Linked DNA regions of Homo sapiens: region 2 is linked to region 1. Evidence: promoter capture Hi-C in human tissues and cell types (Jung and others, 2019). All regions are on one chromosome and are shown on one strand. Each heading gives the region's core, a stretch centred on a gene start or on the middle of the fragment in contact. The rest is flanking DNA. Distances are from core to core; before and after follow the strand shown. Region 1 holds the start of TMEM132D (transmembrane protein 132D). Region 2 has its middle 48 kb from the start of TMEM132D.

The links. The method cuts DNA at HindIII sites, captures the fragments that hold promoters and counts their contacts. A contact is called where the count stands out against the background at its distance.
Region 2: a fragment that was not itself captured here is called in contact with the fragment with the promoter of TMEM132D in region 1 in 3 of the 25 tissues and cell types used here (aorta, spleen and stomach).

What each region holds. Positions count from the first base shown.
Region 1 is chr12:129,902,150-129,907,591 of GRCh38, reverse strand. It overlaps TMEM132D (transmembrane protein 132D), which reads left to right and starts at 3,567. Exons shown (of 9, transcript NM_133448.3): 1 at 3,567-4,331. The coding sequence starts at 4,253. The HindIII fragment of the contact is 10,076 bases long and covers 1-5,442 here.
Region 2 is chr12:129,949,420-129,954,877 of GRCh38, reverse strand. No RefSeq gene overlaps it. Among named protein-coding and RNA genes, the nearest start is that of TMEM132D, 48 kb to the right of the region's middle. RefSeq lists an enhancer at 5,049-5,218. The HindIII fragment of the contact is 7,079 bases long and covers 1-4,921 here.

The sequences.
Region 1 (5,442 bases), core at 2,318-4,817:
AGGGAGAAGGACAGAGAGAGGAGAGTAAAAGTAGGTCTGGATTTTAGTATGGTTAACCTGGAAGAACCAAGAAGTTTGATGATTTAACACAATAAAAATTAATTTCTTTTACCATACTTCTTAATGTGGATTGACGGGGGACTTTGCTCTCTCATCAACTTGCTGGACTGCTGGCTGGAAGGCTCACCTTGTAGCAGCTGCACCATCTCAAACACAGGGTCCACTCTTCTCCCAGGGCAGGGCAGGTGCAGAATGAGGAGTCACAGGTGAGCTTTTCACTGCCCCACCAGAGAAATGACCCCCATGACTTCTGCTCACATTTAGTTGGTCAACTGCAAGGGGCTGAGAAGAGTAGTCATCCATGCGCTGGGAAGGAGAGAGTGACAGGTCTTGGCAAACACACACCTTCCTCAAGGGCACAGCATGGATTCCGCTGAGGTGCTCCTTCTGGAAGGATGATCTCCTGCTGGCCTTACCAGGAAGGGTGTGCAATGTTCCCAGTGTTTACAGTGCCCTCAACATCAGAAGGCTTTCCCCACTAGTGAAAGAGACAGTTGATTGAACCAGGCCTTTCTATTTCCCAGTCATTTCATGAATTTTGGAAAACTGGGAAGACAGGGAGTTTCAAAAAGTCTCTTCTGCATCTTCAGGAGGGATTGATCTGGTAGCTCTCACTTCATGCTAAGGTTTCCCAAACTTCATTTCTCACCATCTTCCGGAGTATTGTCATAGAGAGAAGACGGTGCCTGCACCCGTGTCAGTAGTGATTGCTAAATCCATTACTCATTTCCCATCTTCATAAACATACATAACTTGATATTTTTTAAACAAAATGCATCACCAAGTAAAAGGAGAGAAAACAAAAATAATAATAATCAAAATAAAAACAAATCGATGTTAGTAACTTGAGCTAGATGTTGTCATTGTGCAGAAAGAGCTTCCTTTTTTGTTTAAAAAACATGGACATTTGCAATTACTAAAAGGCTGTTCCGGAGTAGCTCAGGCCTGAGCCTTTCTCCTGGATGCAGTCAGAAGGACTGGAAGAGAATGGCTTCAGTTTTACAGGAGGCCCCATCTTTAGAGGGCCTGAAAGTGTCCTCTCATCCACCAGTGGCATAGCCCCTGCAGTACTTGAATTCCAGCTCCTTTCTGCCTTTATCAACGCTCAAAGTTGCCATTTCTCAAAAACTGCTACAGGGAATGTTTTTGTTTTATTGAAAAATAACAACAAAAACTGCTTAGTGTAAAAGCCTCATCCACACAGCATGAACAATTAGTGCAATTTAATTACCGACAAAATTAGGCTTACAGCTTGATTTATGGCCCCGCAGATGAAACACATATTCTTGGAGGAAAGCAGATTTCTTACAAGTAACTTGAGAGAGACAAGGCAGGCGATTTTGATGGGAAGTTGTCCTGGGGCAGGGGCTGGAGTTAGGGACCTATGAGCCCTCAGTGTCCATCTCCAAGTCTAAGTTTTGCTTCCCCACAATTAGCTGTGTTAATTACCCAAAGAAGATTAGATGTACCAGGGAGAATGGCATACTGGAGAGAGAAAAAGTAAGAAGCCATTCTTGCATCTTATTTTAGCCACTGATTAGGTATCTGAAGTTGCATCTTCCCAAAAAATCTTCCATACCAAAGAGTGGAAAAAACTTTTGTTTCGCCAACTACGCATAATGAAGAAACCGTTTAACATTTTAGGCAGCAGCTGGAACTTGACAGTCACCTTTTGTCTTCACATTACAGATAGAGAAACCTTCTGCAATGGCAAAAAGAAAAGTTATTTGATGATTGCAATTCAGGGGAAAAACTCAATTTGATTTAGAGAAACATAAAATGATTGTTTTTAATAAAGAACAGGGACCACTTGTTTCTAGTCAATATGTCTGAGAAATGTCTTACAAATAGACTCAGTGTCACAAATAGATGATTTACAAATAGACTCAGACCCACTGTAGCGTTAAGGATGGAACCTGGATTATGCATTCAGTGCGGGCATCAATTTTGACACTCAGAGACCAGGTGAAGGTGTCCAAGAGACGAAAGCTCAGCTCTCTCATCACTCAGGTGAAGGAGAAAGGGGACCAGTGGTTCCAGCACGTGTTCCGCAGGCCGGCAGCATCAGCATCACCTGGAACTTTTTAGGAACGGAGATCGGAAGTCCCACCTTGACCTGCCGAGATAGCTCTGGGGTGGGCCCAGCAACCCAGGTCTAACAAATTTTCCAGTGACTCTCCTGCTGGTTCAAACTTCAGAAACAGTGAAAGAGACAATCTCTTAGGGTCTTTGCAGCGTCGACTCTTAGGAATTTTACAGGAGAGCAATACAAAGAGAAAAGGCAACAAGTTTAAGAAACAAACAAAAGAAAAAACAGAAAGACAGATATATTCAGATAAGTAGATACAGAATAAAAGACAAGAGCACATCTCAAAGGACATGAACCCAGAAAAACAATCTTCGGTAGAACAGCAGTGGCTTTTTTGATCTTCCTTGAAACTTTGAAAGCTAAAAACTCTTAAAGCATTGGTATATTTCTGCAACTACAGGCATACAGGATAAAAAAGTCCATTGCCCCCTCAGTCAGATGATAACGACCCATTTTTATCTACTGAGGTGAATTCACCTCATTAGATTCAGGGCTTGTTGGTTTACAATATTCCTTAAAAATTCTGAATGCTTTTCTTCCCTCTGAGCTTTGATGGGGTTAATTTAAAGGCTCTCGTGGAGCAAAGCAGTTCTTGGGCTACAAATTACAGGACGGTGCTTAGGGATCTTGGTGTGGGAATGTCTTAGTTGGAGATTCCGGGCGGTGTTGAGAATCATGTCTTTTATCTTCTCAAAGCAATGTTGTCTCCTAATGGATCCATTTCCTTTCCCAGTGAGCCCTGGGGAGCACACGACATGTTTCTAGGGACACTAACTTGGGGGATCGCTCTGGGAAGGGGCTTGGGGCCAGCATGACCTCAGTGTGGCGTGTCAGAGACTTCCTCACTGCGATCCCTGGGAGATGCGCAGGGCGGGGCGAGGGCCCTTCTCCAGCCATCCTTGCGCTCTCCCTGGCGAAGAGCCTCAGGTGCCCCCGGGCTGGAGGACCTCCCCTGGGCCTGAGGTTTTGATGACGACGAGAGGCCGGTGGCCAGCTGGACACCTGTTGGGAGAGTGGGTGGCTCCGTCCCCGGGGTGCGCCCGCGCTGGGAGCCCTCGCCCGCCGCCACCGCGCGTCCGCGCTCGCAGGGAGGGTGGCCGGGAGGCTGGGCGTGGGGCGGCCAGGGGGAGGTGGGATTTACTTTGCGGATTGGGGCTCACAGCTGTCACTCCGAAAGGGTGGGGCTTTTTAAAAGCAGACAAATTTTTAAGGCGAAAGCCCCAGCCGGCTCCGGGCACCGTGGCGATCGCCTCCGTTCCGTTCCGGATGCGGTCCTTGCGGAGCGGAGCCCCCGCGCCTGCTGGCAGGAGGCAGCTGCGTTGCTCGGCCGCGTCCCCGAGCCGGCGGGCCCTCCTCCGCGCACATCTGGCCCGCCTCCCCCGGGCGCAGGGGGGAGCCCCGCGTCTCCGGAGCCTGCAGTGCGCTCGGCGCGCGTAGAGCCCCGCGAGCCCCAGCCGGGCCCGGGGCCGGGCGGGCCGAGGCGGCGGCCGGGGAGCAGCCGCACCCGCCAAACTTTGGGTGCCGGAGCGCGCGCGCGCCCGAGCCCCGAGGCGCAGCGGCCGGCCTGGGATGGGGGCTGCGGGCCAGGGAGCCCCGGGCCGCCCAGCGAGCCCGGCCACCCGCCCGGGGGGCTCCGAGCCGCCTCTGCCCGCGTCCCGGGCTCCGCAGCCCCGCCACCCCGGCGCCGCCTGCGCCAGCGCCCGCTAGCCAGCCCGGGAGCAGCTGGAGCCGCCGGAGCCCTGCGCCTGGAGGCGCCCCTCCTTGGGCCACCGGGGGCCACTCTTCGCTCGGGTAAACAGGAAAGGAAATACCCCCTGTGGATTAAAATTTAAAAAAAATTCTGTTGGGGTCGAAGGAGGGAGGTGGGGTTTGCCTGCGCGCGTGTTGGACTCCGGAGAGCAACTCAGGAGCCCGCGCGGTCGTCGCCTCCCGGCCTGGCCATGGACTGGCGGGAAGAGGGAGCAGGGCGCCCGGGCTGCTCGGGCCCCTAGCCGGGCGCTCCCTCGCCACCGGCCCCGCTGCGGGCCTCTAGGGGACTGAGACGGTCTCTTGTTCGCCTGGACGGCGCCGGGGAGCGGAGGATCTGCGCTCCGGGTCTCCAGGATGTGCCCGTCTGAGATGGGGACGCTGTGGCACCACTGGTCGCCGGTACTCATCAGCCTGGCCGCCCTGTTTTCCAAAGGTGAGGACGCCGCGGCCGCCAGGGCCCGGGGACTAACTTCGCCTGGAGTGAGTGTGTGGGAGTGTGTGGAGGATGGGGGCGGCCGGGAGAGAGGGCTCGTGTGCAAGTGTGTGTGCGCGCTTGTGTGCATGTGTGTGTGCGCGCGTGTGAACGTGCGCTCGTGCGGCAGCCAAGCTCCTCGGACGCCCCTTGGCCGAAGGTGCTTGTCCTGGAGCACTTGGGTGGGAGGCCTTAGGTGAGACTACTAAGGAGCCGAAAGGAAAGGAAGGCTGTTTCCTGAAAGCCTTTTCTGTAAAGGGAGAGGGCGTGGGGACCCTTGAGAGGAAAGGTGGCCTCTGGAGGGCCGAGCCGGCTGTCGGGGGAGGAGGGGATTGAGATGACCAGGGAGATTTCTGGAATTTGGGATTGACTTTCCCTGGTGGCACTGACCTATTTGGAAATAATTTTGGAGCACTCCTGTTGTATGGGAATACTATTTTGTGTATTATAGGCTGCCAAAAATATAGCCTGGGGGGCGGCTCTGAAGAAGGGGGATGGGTTTCTCCAGGTCTGCCGCTGTGAGGTTTGGGCACAGGGTCTGGCGCTCACCCTTCCGTAGGGTGCTGGGAGCAGCAGCGGCCCCGCAGGGTGCACGTGGAGTTTCAGCTACAAGTTGTGACCCGAATTTTCCCAGCGGAGCCCTGACTTGAAGCCATGTGTCAAGGCAGGAATTCCTCAATGTTTCCTCTTCTCTTCTGCCAGCATCCCTGTCTGTCATGGGAAGAGCAAGTTTGGAAGCTCTGGACAGTCATTCTTCCTTGAAGAGAAATGGTGTGATTTGTGCGGGAGATTCTTTCTCATGATTGACCTGGGCTGCTTGTGTGTGGTTCCCCCACCCGTGCCCCTTTCCTGCAGATAGATACACTGGGAGGAGAGTGAAGCGTCTCAGCAGTCTCTAATACGTGCTGCAAGAACCCTGTACCCATATTTTTCTGCAAAGATTTTTGAGATGAGATCTCTCTCAGAAACTTCAAAGCCAATTATCACGCACAAAGTCTTTTAATTACATGAATTGTCTGTTCTCTGAGTTCTTCCAGAATCACTGAGGTTATGTTGCTTTGGATCTGATAAT
Region 2 (5,458 bases), core at 133-2,632, 49 kb before region 1:
AGAAGGCAGAGGTTGCAGTGAACTGAGATTGCACCGCTGCACTCTAGCCTGGGCAATAAGAGCAAAACTCCGTCAAAACAAACAAACAAACAAAAAAAAAAACCAACTACACATAGATGAGGAACCTTCACAGATGCTTTGCACAGCATGGGAATAGAGTTCATATCATGCCTGTAGAAAGTCATGCACGGTGAAGTGGCTGCCGTGTCATTACAAATCCTTCATAGCCAACTTTATAAGAATACACGTTTTTTCTTACTTGAAAACATTTCCTTTATTAAAAATCTGAAAAACACAGAAAACCTCAGAAACAAGCATGAATGTCACTGGTAATCATACGACTAGAAAACTAAAACCCCCAAATCTTGACTATTTGGTATATTGATTGGATTCTTTCTGATTAATGAAGATAAGTAATACTGGCTAGAAAAACAGATAAAGTCGAGTATCTCAGTGTTTTAACACAGTAAGTCTAGTTCTCCTTCACATTACAACACAACATGATTTGTCAGAGAGTCTTTTCTCTGTGTAGACAGAGAGTCTTTTCTCTGTGTAGACACTCAAAGATCCAGGCCCCTTCCACTCATGGCTTGAACCTTCTCCGGATCCCTTTCACAAGCCAGTCCATAAAGATTAAGGGGACCATGCATGAGTAGCTTTTAAGGGCCAGGCCTTCAGGTAACGTGTATCAGTTCTCTGCGTTTCATTGACCCATAATCCGTCACGTGATTCCATCTGGCTGTGGGGAGAGGGGTTGGAAATGCAGTCTTACTGTGTGCCCAGGAAGAAGAGAAGAACATTGACGGGGTGCAATTGCAGTGGCTGCACAATCTTCTGTTCTCGTTAACCTTCTACCCAGGGTGGTGGGCAGCAGGTGGTTCTTAGCTATATGAGATTTATAAAATGTATTAATTATTCTTGCCTATGGTATTAGTCAGCTGAGGCTGCCATAACAAATATACCACAGACTGGGTAGCTTAAACAGCACAGGTGTATTTTCTCATCATCCTGGAAGCTAGAAATCCCAGATTTAGGTACCCGCAGGTTTGGTTTCTAATGAGGGCTCTCTCCCTGGCTTGCAGATGGCCACCTTCTTGCTGTGTCTTCACACGGCCTTAACCCTGTGTGCACAGAGAGAAAGGGAGAGAGAGAGAGAGAGAGATCTGATGTCTCTTCCTCTTATAAAGACATTAGTCCTATTGAATTAGGTTCTCATCCTTATGATCTTGTTTAACTTTAATTACCTCTTTAAAGACTCTAAATATTGTCACATTGGAGGTTAGGGATTCAACCTATGACTTTGGGGGGGCACAATTCAATCCAAAACAGCTGTTGAGCATTGCTTTTCTCTACTTCTGTCAACAATGCTTTGCTTTTACTTTGGGGAACCATCTTACTTTCAAGCCAAGTTCATGTCATTTGTTTAAGGCTAAAACACTCCCAACATCTGGCTCCAGAAGATGGCACGTATCCCAGACTTGGCCAGTTGGCCTATTCTGCACCCTGGATTATTGGGCATGGATGAGCTGCTCACCAGCTTGCAAAAGGCACGTCATCCCTCTGTGTCTCAATTTCCTCCTCTGTATTATGGAGAGGAGACTTGTATTAATTAGAAACACAGTCATTGCTAATAATTTATATAATTGGTTATTTTTCTCACAAAGCAGAAGTGCTGAGGCATTACTTCAGTGGCTCAGCTACATCCAAGGGCCATACGGAATTGGTCCAAGTTGGGCATGTTACCCAAACATGCCAATGAAATACAATTTTGGAAATTTTGCAGGGGACATTTAAGAAGTGCATTCATTTCCTAGGTCTGCCGTAATAAATTACCACAAACTGGGTGCCTTAAGACAACAGTGATTTATCATCTCACAGTCTGAAATCAAGGAGCGTAAGTGTTGGTTCCTCCTGGAGTGTTTTAGGGAGAATGCGTCCATGCCTCTCTCCCAGCTCCTGGTGGGTGGCTGCTGTCAATCCTTAGCACTCTTCAGCGTGTAGACGCATCACTCCAATCTCCGCTTCCATCTTTTCATGCCTTCCCTTCTATGTGGCCTCTTTTTTTTTTTTTTTTTTTTTTTTGGCCTTCTCTTCTGATACTTGTCATTGCATTTAAGGCACATCTTAATCCAAGAGGATCTCATCTCAAGATCCTTAACTTAATTACACTGATGAAGACACCTTTTTTTCCAAGTCAGTTCACATTCACAGATTTCAGATTGACATATCTTAGGCAGATGGGAGGGGTGGGGACCATTACATCTAATATAGGAAACAATGGTCTCTTTCATCTGGAATTACTCTAGAAAAAGAGGTAAACCAAGAGCTGGCTGGGGCCGCCATGAGGAGAAGGCTTGCCTGAGAGTCCAGCTAGCACACTCAAAAGCAGATTGTGTGGCTCCGGTCCAGAAAGTTTAAAATGTGGTCTCATCTCCATTCTGCTGTGGATCAGAGGGTGCACACCAGCAACCCGCAGGCAGACTGCATCAGGACTCCATCTGCACAGCGGCTGGGATGTATGCCTCATTCTCACACCACATCCCCAACATCACCTCTGCCATTATTCCTGTCTGCATGGCTTTTAAATCCAGAGAGTCTGTGAGTTGCCCAAGGTCCTCTGAATAAATCTCTTCTGCTTAAGTTAGCTAAACTTGGTTTCTGTTGTTTGCAGCTCACAGCCTAACAAATACAGCATGCGTCAACAGAAACTCAAACCTGCTTGGATCTCAATCCACTGTCTGGAGTCAATGGCCTTCCCACTGAAAATAGCTACATCAAACTGGGTCCTGCAGAGCGGGAGGAGCCCCAAGCTCCTTGTCATTCCCGCTGCACTACCACCAACACTCTGAAGTTTCTGGTCAAAGCTATTGATCATCTGCTTCCATTTAATGTGTTCTAGAGAAACCAGCAGTTTAAGAACAGGACAAGTTGCACATCTTTAAGAACTTTATTTTTTAATCTCTCTGTGTTTCAATTTCCTCATTTGCAAAATGGGAGTAATATTAAGATTCCCTTCTCCAAGGCTGTCATGTGTATCTGAAGTAGCATATGAGAAGTTCTAATCAGAACATCTGCCACATGATAAGTGCTCAGTGAATCCTAGCTGATTCTGGTTTTCATTTTATCCACATACACACCTGCAGTAAAGTGAAAATCAGTTTTCCTTAACCTTTTTTAACAGGCTGACCTAGGGGGGACCCAACCATCCTGATATTCCAGGACTGAGAGGTTTCCTAGGATGTGAGATTTTCCAGCACTAAACTTAGAGGATTCAGGGACAAACCAGCCCAGTTGATCATCCTAAATCTAAGGTTACTATTGAGTTTTTTGAAATATTCATGTGTTGACGAATAAAATCTTTTCACTTTCAAATGATAGACAATGAACTCTAGTTTGCTTAATAAATAATCATCCACTTGTTCACTTAATGGGAAGTGTAGACTTCAGAAAGTCCTGGCTTTAGGGAGGGTAGGAATTGGAGGCTCATAAGATGTGGTTAGAAACCTGTGCTACTGTCTATTCCTCAGTACTGCTTTCCTCATGCGGGCTTCATTTTAAGACAGGCTGTCTCTCAGGAGAACAAATTGTGATTGCCACTTCTGGTTGTCTTTCTGCTGGCTCATTCAAATCAGCATTGGGAAGGTAAGCTTGTCTCTCCCATCATATCTTCAGCTCAAGGGCCAGGGCAGACCCTCACAGACTTCACTTTGGTCCTAGGCTAATGCCTGACTCAGCTAATATTTTGTATTTTTTTTTTAAGAGTCGGGGTCTCACTATGTTGCCGAGACTAGTCTTGAACTCCTGCACTCAAATGATCCTCCCTGCTTTGGCCTCCCAAAGTGCTGGGATTACAGGTATGAGCCACTGTGCCTGGCCCCTTTTCTATCATTTTTAACAAGTGTCAGAATAATTTATTTTCTTTGACGTTGGCCATCCATAGTTGACTAATATCAAGAGTTATTTTGCTTATGGAGGAATATTTTGATCACTGGGCTGGTGCTCAAATTTCCATTGGAAATTTCTAATGGAGACAAGTCTCCATTGCATAAGAGACTTGACTCCAACTGGCATAAGAAGAAAAGGAGATTTTTGTGGTTCATACAGTTGGAAACTCCATGGATCATCTTCATATTATGTATGGTTCAATCTACGAGCACGGAAAAAATAGCATCAGAGTCTGATTTCCCCCAAATGCTCCTCATTGTCACAAGATGGCTGCTGCAGGGGAGAACTCTACATGTTCTCCCCTTCAGGACAAAGAAAGAACCTGCCTCACTCCTAAAAGCTCAGCACAAGTCTCACTGCACCTGTTTAGCTCTCATTGGGCCATGCAACATGACTAAACCCACCATGGCTAAGGCAATGGGATGCTTTGATGGGCTGACACAATAACCACCTCTAATGCAAGGGATGAAGAAACCCATTCATGTGACCTGATGATGGTTGGTGTGAACCTGCCAGAAAGAGACTGACACACTATTTTGCCAGAAATACAGGCAATGAATATTGAACAGAAAAAAATACAGTGGTCCACTTAGCAATGCTCCCTCACTCATAGTTCATATTAATATTTCTTGCATTGAATGCAGGATAAATTAACAAATATCTCCAGAATAGTTGGGGCTTAGATAAACATTCACACAACAGACACAAAGCTCTAAATGGCCCCATTGAGGGCCAGAAGGACAATGACGTCTGGCACAAAACATCCCTTCATTTATGGAAGCAAAAACTGGCCACTGGAGTCATGCCTTAAAACAGAGCTCCAGACAGAATCCAAAAATTGCGTTTTAGTTGCAATAGTATGGCAGTAACTGTCTGTTGGTGGTGTTTGCTGTCACGTCTCACATTGTCATTTGCATGGGCTGCTGTCCATATTCTCAATAAACAGGCCCTGCCTGTAGCCTGGCTTACACGTTATTTTTCTAAGTTGGTAAATAATGAAATGAGATGTGGGGTGTCACGCGTGCTGTTGGCACATACTGGTACAAACATGTGCCGCTCGGTTCCGTTGACGCTGCTCCCATCTGGCCTAAATATAGAGACATCGATTTTCCTCCAGATGGTGCTGCGGCTTTCAGTGGATTGCTCTTTTTTCTACTAATAAGCACGGAGCTCGTCCCGCCTAATGACGGAACCCTGGGATGCGAACATCTGGGGGAAGCTCAAGGTGTCTTGTCAGTTGACTTGCAAGCTCCACGTGGAAGAGTTCAATGAATCTTTGGTGGTAACAGGAGCTCCAGCTGCTGAATTAATTATCAGGCACCAGGGGAGTGAGACGGTGACCTGGGGAGAAGCCCTTTGGCCCTGGGTCCCCCTTTCTCATCCATAGAAGGGAAGCGGTGAGCCTCAGGAAGTGAGAAGGCACTACTGCCTGTCTGGGCCCAGTGATTCAACTGCTCTGCTCTTGGGAGCCCTGGGACCTTTCCCAGGATGGAAAAATGCAACCATTGCTTTC